Linked DNA regions of Homo sapiens: all the other regions are linked to region 1. The links are contacts of gene promoters, found by promoter capture Hi-C in human tissues and cell types (Jung and others, 2019). All regions are on one chromosome and are shown on one strand. The core of a region is centred on a gene start or on the middle of the fragment in contact, and the rest is flanking DNA. Distances in the headings are between cores, read along the strand shown. Region 1 holds the start of LIMK2 (LIM domain kinase 2). Region 2 has its middle 16 kb from the start of PISD. Region 3 overlaps MORC2 (MORC family CW-type zinc finger 2).

Region 1 (3,320 bases), core at 415-2,914:
CCCCTGTTGTCCCAGCTACTCGGGAGGCTGAGGTAGGAGAATCGCTTGAACCCGGGAGGCAGAGGTTGCAATGAGCCAAGATTGTGCCACTGCACCCCAGCCTGGGCGACAGAGCAAGACTCCATCTAAGAAAAAAAAAAAAAAGTTACTGGAAATCATTCGAGTTGAAGGACTCTGTAAGCTTAAAAAAAATCTTTTTTAAGAGACAAGGTTTTGTTTTTAAGAGATGAAGTCTCGCTATATTGCCCAAGCTGGTCTCAAACTCCTGGACTCAAGCGATCCTCCTGCCCTGCCCTCCCAAAGTGCTGGGATTACAGGCATGAGCCACCACGCCCAGCCTAAAAAAATTTGTTTTAGGCATTTCCACCCCTAGCTCTCTCCAGAAGTCTGTTATCACCAGTGAAGAGAAAATCCCATGCTCCCTTGCTGAGGAAGTGACCCACTGGTAGCCCAGTCCTTGCATTCAAGATGAAGGAAGTGACTGTCCACAGACGGAAAGCCAGGAAGCAGGGGGCAGATAGCCAGCCCCCCTCCACCTCAATACCCTCTTGCCGCCTCTCCAAAGCTTCTGGACGCTGACCCTGGTGGACCCAGAGGTGGGCCACCCACACAGGTGGCTGGGAAACATAGGAGACAGAAGGTTCCTACTGCTGGGGGAAAAGATGGGGAAGGCAGGAAGCTGCAGGGTGGTGTGTGAGGTGGCGGGGAGGTGACTGCAGGTGCAACTAACCCAACTCTGAAGCTACCCTTCACCCTTAGACAACTCTTCCTTCCAGGAGGTGTTTGGCCGAATCCCTCTAGTCTTTAGTCTAGAGAGGCCAAGGGAGCTTCCACAGGAGGACTCAGAACCCCAGGTGGCCTACTTTCGCCACCTGTAGCAGAGATCTTTGGGCCCCAAAAAGAATGGTCCGATCTCTCCTTACCCTTAGTCCTGTCCTAAACCTCAAGGGGCTCCATACTCCCTTATTTTCTGCAAAGAGCTCCCAGCCCCGGGGGACTCCCAGACACCAAGATGCCCGCGAGAAGCCTTGGGTCTTGGCAGGGAAGTCACATCCTCCATTTCCCTCAGAAAACCCAGAACCCGGGGTAACTCTCCTAATTGTCCTGAACCCTAGAGGATCCTGTACTCCTCAAATTCCACAGAGCTTCCACTATAAGAGAACCCCATGCTTTTCAACTTCCTTAAAAAGGGTTAATTTGGGGGTCTGCGGCCGCCAGGTCCCTCCAAAAAGCTGGATTCCTGGCAGACCCAGAATCTCTTCCTCCCCGGGACCTCAACTCGCGGGAAGCCTCCCAACCCGCCTGCCCCTCGGAGCCCTCTGTCTCCAGGATGCCCTGCCTCCCCATTCCCGGAGTCCCACCCTCCAAATGCCTGGGGAGCGCTGTGCCCACCCCGCCTCCCAGCTTTTCTGAGGAGCTCGGACCCACGAGGACCCAACCAGCCCGAAACCCCCGAGAGACAGCCGGTTTCCCTCAGGCGCCATGGAACCGGACTTCGGAGATAACAGCGGGACAGGGCGGAGCAGCCCTTCCTTACCCGCCAGCGCGGACATGGTCCCGGGAGCGCGGAAATGGGGAGGAGGAGGCGGGGGACACAGCAGCTCCCCTCAGTTCCCTACAACTCCCCTCAGCTCCTGCCGCCGCCGCCTCAGGCGCGGGAAGACCACAGCCCCAGGCGCGAACGGGATGCACCGCCTACGGCGCCCTGGGAGGACCAAACCACACCTGGCACAGGGGACTGCCCGCCGACGCCCCGCCCCGCCGCTCTCAGGCCTCGCTCCCGAGACGCGGCCCCGCCCCCTGGCTCTGGCTCGGGCTCTGCAGCGGCCCTGGCGCCCCCTAGTGCGAGCGGCGTCCCCTCGAGGTGCTCCCGCCGGTAAGGTTGATTCTGCGGGGGCCGGAAGTCTCAACACGGATGACAGTCCGCACCCATCTAGTCGCCCTCATTTACAGATAGGGAAAGTTAAGGATCAGAGGCTAAGTTCGACTACATTGAAATGGCTTCGCTCATTAGGAGGAGAGCCGGGATGGGAGCCCAGGCCTGCTAACTGCCAGTTCAGAGCTCTTTCCAGTAGTGTTTGGAATCAGGAATATTACAATGGAGGAGCCAGGTCTATCCCACAAACAGCTTTGAGGATGGACTTTTCTTAGAAGCTTCTAGCTCAGAGAAACCACTTCTCTGCGCCACTATGAGTAAGCTGACAGTAAATAATCTCTAAGTCAAAGACAGTTGGAGGCGACCAACCAGCATTCCAGGAGCAGATCCTCAGCCAGGCCAATTAGGTTTAGCGCAGGACGCTGGAGCTTGTGCGCCGCATTGGAAGACGAGCACTCCCCTGCAGGAACATGGGCCTACCATTCCCAGGTCTTCCAACCTTTCAAAACATGCCAAAAATCCAGATATTTAGGTGAAATTTGCCACTTTTAAAAAATGTTGATAGCATCAAAAAGTTCTTAAAATGCCATGTAGACCAAATGAAACACACCTGGCCACTAGATTTGCCCTGTGGGCTGCCAGTTTACAATCTTCTATGAGGAGGAGGGATTACAGGACTAAGAGTTAGGACAGCTGACTGGGTTATGGCAGCTGCTAGCTGGCTGAGTAGCTTTGAGAACCACTTCCGCTCATTAGGTTTGGAAGGAGATTGGGGTCCTCTGTGTGATTAAGATATTAATACATCATCAGCCAGGCCAGCTGGTCCCTGATGACCCACCCTCCCATCAGATTCTCTCACGCTGGGTCTTTCACAATTGTCATTTCCTTACATCAGATTTAGATCACAGGAAACATGTCCAAATGACCAGAAAGAGGATGGAGCCCAGGGAAATGGATTCTGTCCCCTCCACCCCCACCCCTGACCAAAGACAAAGTTCAACCCAGCTGCCTCTGGTCCCAGCAGTTGGGTAAGCAAAGGCAAAGGCAAAGACAAAGGCGAGCACAATTCTCTTCCTTCCTGCTCTAATTCAAACCGGATGCCGGTCAGATTTTTCTCTTCTGGGTGTGGCAGGTGGCTCACGATGTCCTGAGTGTGCACAAAGTGCTGGGGAGGAGGGCTCTGTCCCATTTCCGTTAATTCCTGGGAACTCTTTTCAGTACTCAGTTTTGTAGTTTCTGAGGAAATCATTATAGTAAACACAAGATTGTGTATTGAATTAAAGTGACAGGAATCCAGAGACTCTCCTGACAAGCTGCCTCATGGCTAGCAAACAGGGGACAGGGACTTTCCCCATCCTTCCTACAGAAAGATGTAACACTGTATTTTCCCAGGCAACAAAGCACTGGCATCCTGGGAACCAAAACCTCCTGGGTGTCTTCCCTC
Region 2 (3,320 bases), core at 350-2,849, 470 kb before region 1:
CTGGCTAACATGGTGAAACCCCGTCTCTACTAAAAATACAAAAAAATTAGCCGGGCGGGGTGGCGGGTGCCTGTAGTCCCAACTACTCAGGAGGCTGAGGCAGGAGAATGGTGTGAACCCGGGAGGCGGAGCTTGCAGTAAGCTGAGATCGCACCACCGCACTCCAGCCTGGGCGAAAGAGCGAGACCCTGTCTCAAAAAAAAAAAAAAAAAAAAAAGAATCCTCTCTGTGGTGTCCTGTCCTCTTCCAGCAATGGAAAACACATTTCTATTTACTTTCCCTTTTTTTTTTTTGAAACAGTCTCACTTTCGCCTAGCCTGAGTGCAGTAGCACAATCACAACTTAGCTCACTGTAGCCTCGAACTTCCTGGCTCAAGAGATCCTCCTACCTCAGCTTCCCAAGTAGCTGGGACTACAGTCATATGCCACCAAGCCCAACTAATTATTTTTTGGAAGAGACAGGGTCTCACTATGTTGCCCAGGCTGGTCTCAAGTGATCTCCTGCCTTGGCCTTCCAAAGTACTGGGATTACAGGCATGAGCCACCGCGCTTGACCTCCCCCGCCACCACTCCACCTTTGAGACCGTCACGCTCTATCACCCACGCTGGAGAGCAGTGGCATGATCACGGCTCATTGCAACCTTGGAACTCCTGGGCTCAAGCCATCCTCCTGCCTCAGCCTCCTGAGTAGCTGAGACCACAGTGCCATGACACCAGGCTAACTTTTTATTTTCTATAGAAGCAAGGTCTTGTTACATTGCCCAGGCTGGTTTCTAACTCCGACCTTCAAGCAGTTCTTTCACTTTGGCCTCCCAAAGTGCTGGGATTACAGGTGTGAGCCACTGCACCTGGCCAATATCACAATTCTGCGGTTCATTCTGGGATTTCTCCTTTTTATCTTATTATTTTTTTGAGACAGAGTCTCACTCTGTCCCTCTGGCTGAAGTGCAGTGGTGCGATCTCGGCTCACTGCAACCTCTGCCTCCCAGGTTCAAGTGATTCTCCTCCCTTAGCCTCCCAAGTAGCTGGGACTACAGGTGTGCATCACCACGTCCGGATAATTTTTGTATTTTTACTAGAGACGGGATTTCACCATGTTGGCCAGGCTAATCTCGAACTCCTGACCTCAGATGACCCACCCGCCTCGGCCTCCCAAAGTGCTGGGATTACGAGCATGAGCCACAGCACTCGGCCAGATTTCTCTTTTTTAAAAAGTGTTCTAGAAAATTCATAATTCTTCAACTTACAGGGTCATAAGTGAGTCCTTCATGACATCTTTCTCAAACCACCAGTCCCTCCTCCTTCCTTATCCACAGCTGATAGTTTTCCTTCGCATTTCACTGAGGAGGTAGAAGCAATCTGAATACAACTTCCACACCGACACTTGGCTTTTCCTTGCTCGGATCTCATGATACGTGTGCACTTGCTGCCTGTGCCGACAGTGATGCCCTTCTCTCACATTTCTACATGGTTCCTTCAGTTACTGTATTCAGATATGTGCCTTTCCAGATCCCTCTACTGGGAAGTGTACTGCCTCCCATTATATGTCCTCCTTATGGTGTGCGAGATAAGAGAAAGATTTTTTTTTCTTTTTTTGAGACAGAGTCTCACTCTGTCGCCCAGGCTGGAGTGCAGTGGTGTGATCAAGACTCACAGCAACCTCCACCCCGGGTTCAAGCGATTCTCCTGCCTCAGCCTCTCAAGTAGCTGAGATCACAGGCGCCCGCCATGATGCCCGGCTAATTTTTGTATTTTTAGTAGAGAAGGGGTTTCACCATGTTGGCTAGGCTGGTCTCGAACTCCTGACCTCAAGTGATCCACCCGCCTCGGCCTCCCAAAGTGCTGGGATTCCAGGCGTCAGCCACCGCGCCCGGTCGGTGATATATATATATATATATATATATATATATTTTTTTTTTTTTTTTTTTTTTTTTTTTGAGGCGGATTCTCGCTCTGTCGCCCAGGCTGGAGTGCAGTGGCGCGATCTCGGCTCACTGCAAGCTCCACCTTCTGAGTTCACGCCATTCTACTGCCTCAGCCTCCAGAGTAGCTGGGACTACAGGCGCCCACCACCACGCCCGGCTTATTTTTTGTATTTTTAGTAGAGATGGGGTTTCACCGCGTTAGCCAAGATGGTCTCGATCTCCTGACCTCGTGATCCACCCGCCTTGGCCTCCCAAAGAGCTGGGATTACAGGCGTGAGCCACGGCACCCGGCCTGTTTTATATATTTTTTAACACCACCACGTCCCCATATTATTCACGTTAAGCTCCTTGAGGTCAAAGACTTTGCTATATTCACTCTGGCCCCTCGGACATCTAGAACAAAACTTGGTCTTACGTGGTGGGAGCTCAGGAAATACTTCATGCGTCAATGAATGATTCCCGCCCCCGTTGCTACACAGACCTGCCCAAGTCCTCTTTACCTCGCTGACTCTCTGAATATTTGAAGACGCCCCCTAATTTTTCTCCACCCCTTCTTAAATTATTCCTCAAGGGACCTGGATTCTAGCTGCCCGAGCACTGACAGCGAAACCGGGCACTTCCTGGTATTCGGATATGCGCAGCGCCAAGCGCAGCCGCACCCACTGCTGGCCTCACGCCGTCTGATTGGCTGCAGCTCTCCGGAGGGGCGGGGCCATCCGAGAAGCTATCCATATTGGAGGAGGCTGCTAGTCCTTTGCTGGTACCTGCCGGGCTGGAGAGCGGGGAGGGTCACGTGGTTAAGACTCGCCACGTGGGCCGGGCGCGGTGACTCAAGCCTGTAATCCCAGCACTTTGGGAGGCAGAGGCGGGCGGATCACTTGAGACAGGCCTGGCCAACCTGGTGACTCTACTAAAAATACAAAAAATTAGCCGGGAGTGGTGGCGCGCGCCTGTAATCCCAGCTACTCGGGAAGCTGAGGCAGAAGAATCGCTTGAACTCGGGAGACTGTAGGTGCCGTGAGCCGAGGTCGCGCCACTGCACTCCAGCCTGGGAGAAAGACTCGCCTAAGCAGTTTCTCTCTTTTCTTTTGCATTTTTAATCTTAGACTTTTGGAGATGTTGAAATGGTCGCTGAAACACTGCAAACACAGGGATGGGGGACAGATCCCAAAGTATAGCAGCTACTCATGAGTCCCAGCGCCCCTCCTGTCCTTCCCCTACTGCTGCCTAAGTGGTCTTCCTAAAACACAAGTTTGCACTTGTCAGAACCACTCCTTAAGATCTCTCATGGGTTGCCCTCGTCTCCAAATAAAGATACTAACCACTGAGCTGGCCACGGTGTCTCACGCCTGTAATAGCAGCAGCACCTGGGGAGGCCAAGGCGGAGGACGTTTC
Region 3 (3,320 bases), core at 271-2,770, 280 kb after region 1:
CTCTGCTCACGATGCTGCCTTGCTCTGCCAGCAAGATATGAGGGAGTGGTGCTCGGCGAGGGAGCTAGAAGGTGCAGAAATCACAGCTGCTGCACAGAAAGATCCATGCTTCAACTTTTGTCCTTGTTTAGGCTGCAGGTGCTCTCTGCAAATCCCAGGAGGAACAAGCAGCTAATAGGGTGGCTAGGTTGGCCTGGCATCTTGTCAGATTTGTTGATTTTGGTTTAAGGTTATTGCCAAACTCAGAGTAGAGCCTGGGTGCAGCAGGATCTCTGCAGTGGGCTTGAATGCCTGGGCCCAAACAAAGTGCATGAGTGTCTAAAAATAGTATATTAGGCTGGGTGTGGAGGCTCAGGCCTGTAATCCCAGCACTTTGGGAGGCTGAGGAAGGTGGATCACTTGAGGCCAGGAGTTTGAGACCAGCCTGGCCAATATGGTGAAACCCCATCTCTACTACAACGTACAAAAAATATTAGCCAGATGTTGTGGTGCATGCCTGTAATCCCAGCTACTTGGGAGGCCGAGGCATGAAAATCGCTTGAACCCGGGGAAAGGCAGAGGTTGTAGTAAGCTGAAATTGTGCCACTGGACTCCAGCCTGGGTGACAGAGCGAGACTGTGTCAAAAAAAAAGTATATTAGCTTCTTTTTGTACAAGGAGGTATAATACCAGTGTATCACCTTTGTCCTGCTAATTGTAATGTCTAAAATCACTCAAACTATTTTTTTTTTTGAGACAGAGTCTCGTTCTGTTGCCCAGACTAGAGTGCAGTGGCGCAATCTCGGCTCACTGCCAGCTCTGCCTCCCGGGTTCACACCATTCTCCTGCCTCAGCCTCCTGCCTCAGCCTCCTGAGTAGCTGGGACTACAGGCACCCGCCACCACGCCTGGCTAATTTTTTATATTTTTAGTAGAGATGGGGTTTCACCGTGTTAGCCAGGATGGTCTCGATCTCCTGACCTCGTGATCCACCTGCCTCGGCCTCCCAAAGTGCTGGGATTACAGGTGTGAGGCACCACGCCTGGCCATCACTCAAACTATTTTTTTAGCATCAGGGATAAAACAAAGTCTACTGTTCATTATGTCCTTGTCAGTTACGTCCTTTATACCATATGGATCAGGAGTTCCATAGAGCCTCAGGAGCCCTGCAATATTAAAGTATCATTTTTTCAAAAAAACTAATGTAACAATTATATGTGAATCTACAGTTACCTCAAAATAATTAAGAAAAAATTATTACAAACCATGTCTACTTTCAAGATGTTGTATACTGAATTTTAATACTTTGGAGATTGCTCCAGTATTTATTTTGTGCTGCCAAGGCAATTACTGTTTTGTGTAGAACTAGAAGTTTCTCTTGCTATCTTGGTTTAGTAGGATAAGGTGAATGACACAGTTAAATACTTGCCAGTAACAGTTTTTAAAAATGGCATCTAGAAGCCTCTCCAGGCTAGGCAGCTAATGCATCTTTACAGAAGTAAACACCAGAGTTGATAAGACTGCAGCAGCCAGCTAGCACCTGCTGGTTGTGGCGTGTGTGTTCATCACAGTGGCCTCATGATTCTCAGTGATTTACGAGTAAGTCATGTTATAAATTTGAACTTGGAAAATAAATTGAACCTAAAGAGATACTACTTAACATTGTTTTTCACACTGAGATTCCATGTGACATTTCATTTGAAACAAGTATTCTGCTCCCTTTTATAAGTCTGAAAAGCCACTAGAAAAACTGCTTGTTTCCCTTCCTACCTCTCCCCCTGGAGGTTTCAGGTACTCAGGGAAAATAGTAAAAAGCTCTGATGCTGTAGAAGTATATACTACTCCACAGATCTGGAGATATCTGCTGTTGGTTGGTAGGTGGAAAGAGAACTGACATGAGCGCTGACATTGTTGGGTATGTCTTGGAAGTGGGTGGTTGAAAGGGCTGTACTGAAGTCAGACAGGTTATGATTGAGCATGGAAGAGCGATTCTGTCATCCTTTTTTGTCACTTGGAATGGTAAGAATCGCCCCTCACGCGTCCTCACGGCCTGCTGTCTGCCAGAGCACTGTGCTGAGTGCTTCACCTGTGTGCTAATTGTCTTCTTCCTTGTGGCAGCCCCACAAGATAGGCATTGATGTCTCTCTACTCTGGACGTAAAGAGGCTGTTTGCCCTTTGTATCTAAGATGTTCCTTCAGACCAGGCATCCTTGGGTAAAGCGGGCTGGAGACACCCGTGTCAGCCTAGAAGGGCCCTGGGGACCCCTGTGAACTTACACACTCTCCCTCTTGCTCTGCTCCCAACAGAAGGAGTACTTCAAGCAATATGAAGTAGGGCTCCAAAACCTGTGCAATTCCTACCAGAGCCGTGCTGACTCCCGGGCCAAGGCCTCCGAGGAAAGCCTGCGCACCTCCGAGAGGAAGCTCCGCGAGACGGAGGAGAAGCTGCAGAAGCTGAGGACCAACATCGTGGCACTCCTGCAAAAGGTGCAGGAGGTGAGCCCGGCAGCCTTCCTGTTGCAGCTGGACCACCTGGTCTCTCAGGGAGGGGGGCCTGGGCCCTGTTCCTGTTCTCACAAGAATCTATCCACTCACAGGAATCTATGGTTCTCACCCTGGCTGCACAGCACCCTGGCAGGAGGGCTTGAGATGGTGTGGCTGCCTGGTCCTCAGCCCAGCCAGACCCATAGAACCAGGCTTTTTCCCTTTAGACATTCCGACGTACAACCTGGTTTGAGAACCCTCCAAGCCATAAAAACGAAGTTCTTTTCCACATGACGCCCAGATGGGATTGGGTAGCCCAGAAGTGGGGAGCACCCCTTAGCCTGTTGGCCCTTCATCCAGGCAATAAGCATGAGGGCCTGCTCTGTGCCTGTCCTGTGGATACAGAATGAACAAGACAAGCCAGAGAAGGTTCCTGCTCTCACAGCCTGCCAGTCTGGTGGAAGAGAGAGAATTACTGATGGTGGTTCATAAGGAGATACAGTAAAGTGTGGGGAGGCCACTTGACTAGGGTGTTCAGGGGCTTAGGCATTTGGAGACACTGGAAGCCAGTCATGCAAAGAGTGTGACACGAGCATTCCAGGCAGAAGGAAGAAGAGCAGGACTTGAGGCCTGAGCAGGGACTTGGGGGCGGTAGGGGCAGAGGCAGGGCTTGAAAGTTGTGGGGTTTGATCCCGAGAACAGTGGAGATCACTGGAGGGGTGTGGCATGATGCAGTTTTCAGTCTCAGACATGTACCTGCTTGGTTGGAGGAGGCCTGGAGGGGTCAAAGTTAGAACCAGAGCCTCCTGTGAGGAGGCTCCCACAGTTGTCTGAGACAGTGGTGGCCTGGACCTTGGGC

What was found. The method cuts DNA at HindIII sites, captures the fragments that hold promoters and counts their contacts. A contact is called where the count stands out against the background at its distance.
Region 2: a fragment that was not itself captured here is called in contact with the fragment with the promoter of LIMK2 in region 1 in 1 of the 25 tissues and cell types used here (spleen).
Region 3: a fragment that was not itself captured here is called in contact with the fragment with the promoter of LIMK2 in region 1 in 1 of the 25 tissues and cell types used here (dorsolateral prefrontal cortex).

What each region holds. Positions count from the first base shown.
Region 1 is chr22:31,210,642-31,213,961 of GRCh38, reverse strand. LIMK2 (LIM domain kinase 2) reads right to left here and starts at 1,664. Exons shown (of 16, transcript NM_005569.4): 1 at 1,538-1,664. The coding sequence starts at 1,553. RefSeq lists enhancers at 56-981, 1,944-2,123 and a silencer at 1,564-1,963. The HindIII fragment of the contact is 2,868 bases long and covers 374-3,241 here.
Region 2 is chr22:31,676,195-31,679,514 of GRCh38, reverse strand. No RefSeq gene overlaps it. Among named protein-coding and RNA genes, the nearest start is that of PISD, 16 kb to the right of the region's middle. The HindIII fragment of the contact is 6,331 bases long and covers 1-3,320 here.
Region 3 is chr22:30,927,172-30,930,491 of GRCh38, reverse strand. It overlaps MORC2 (MORC family CW-type zinc finger 2), which reads left to right. Exons shown (of 26, transcript NM_001303256.3): 25 at 2,285-2,473. Among named protein-coding and RNA genes, the nearest start is that of MORC2-AS1, 6.5 kb to the right of the region's middle. The HindIII fragment of the contact is 7,715 bases long and covers 1-3,320 here.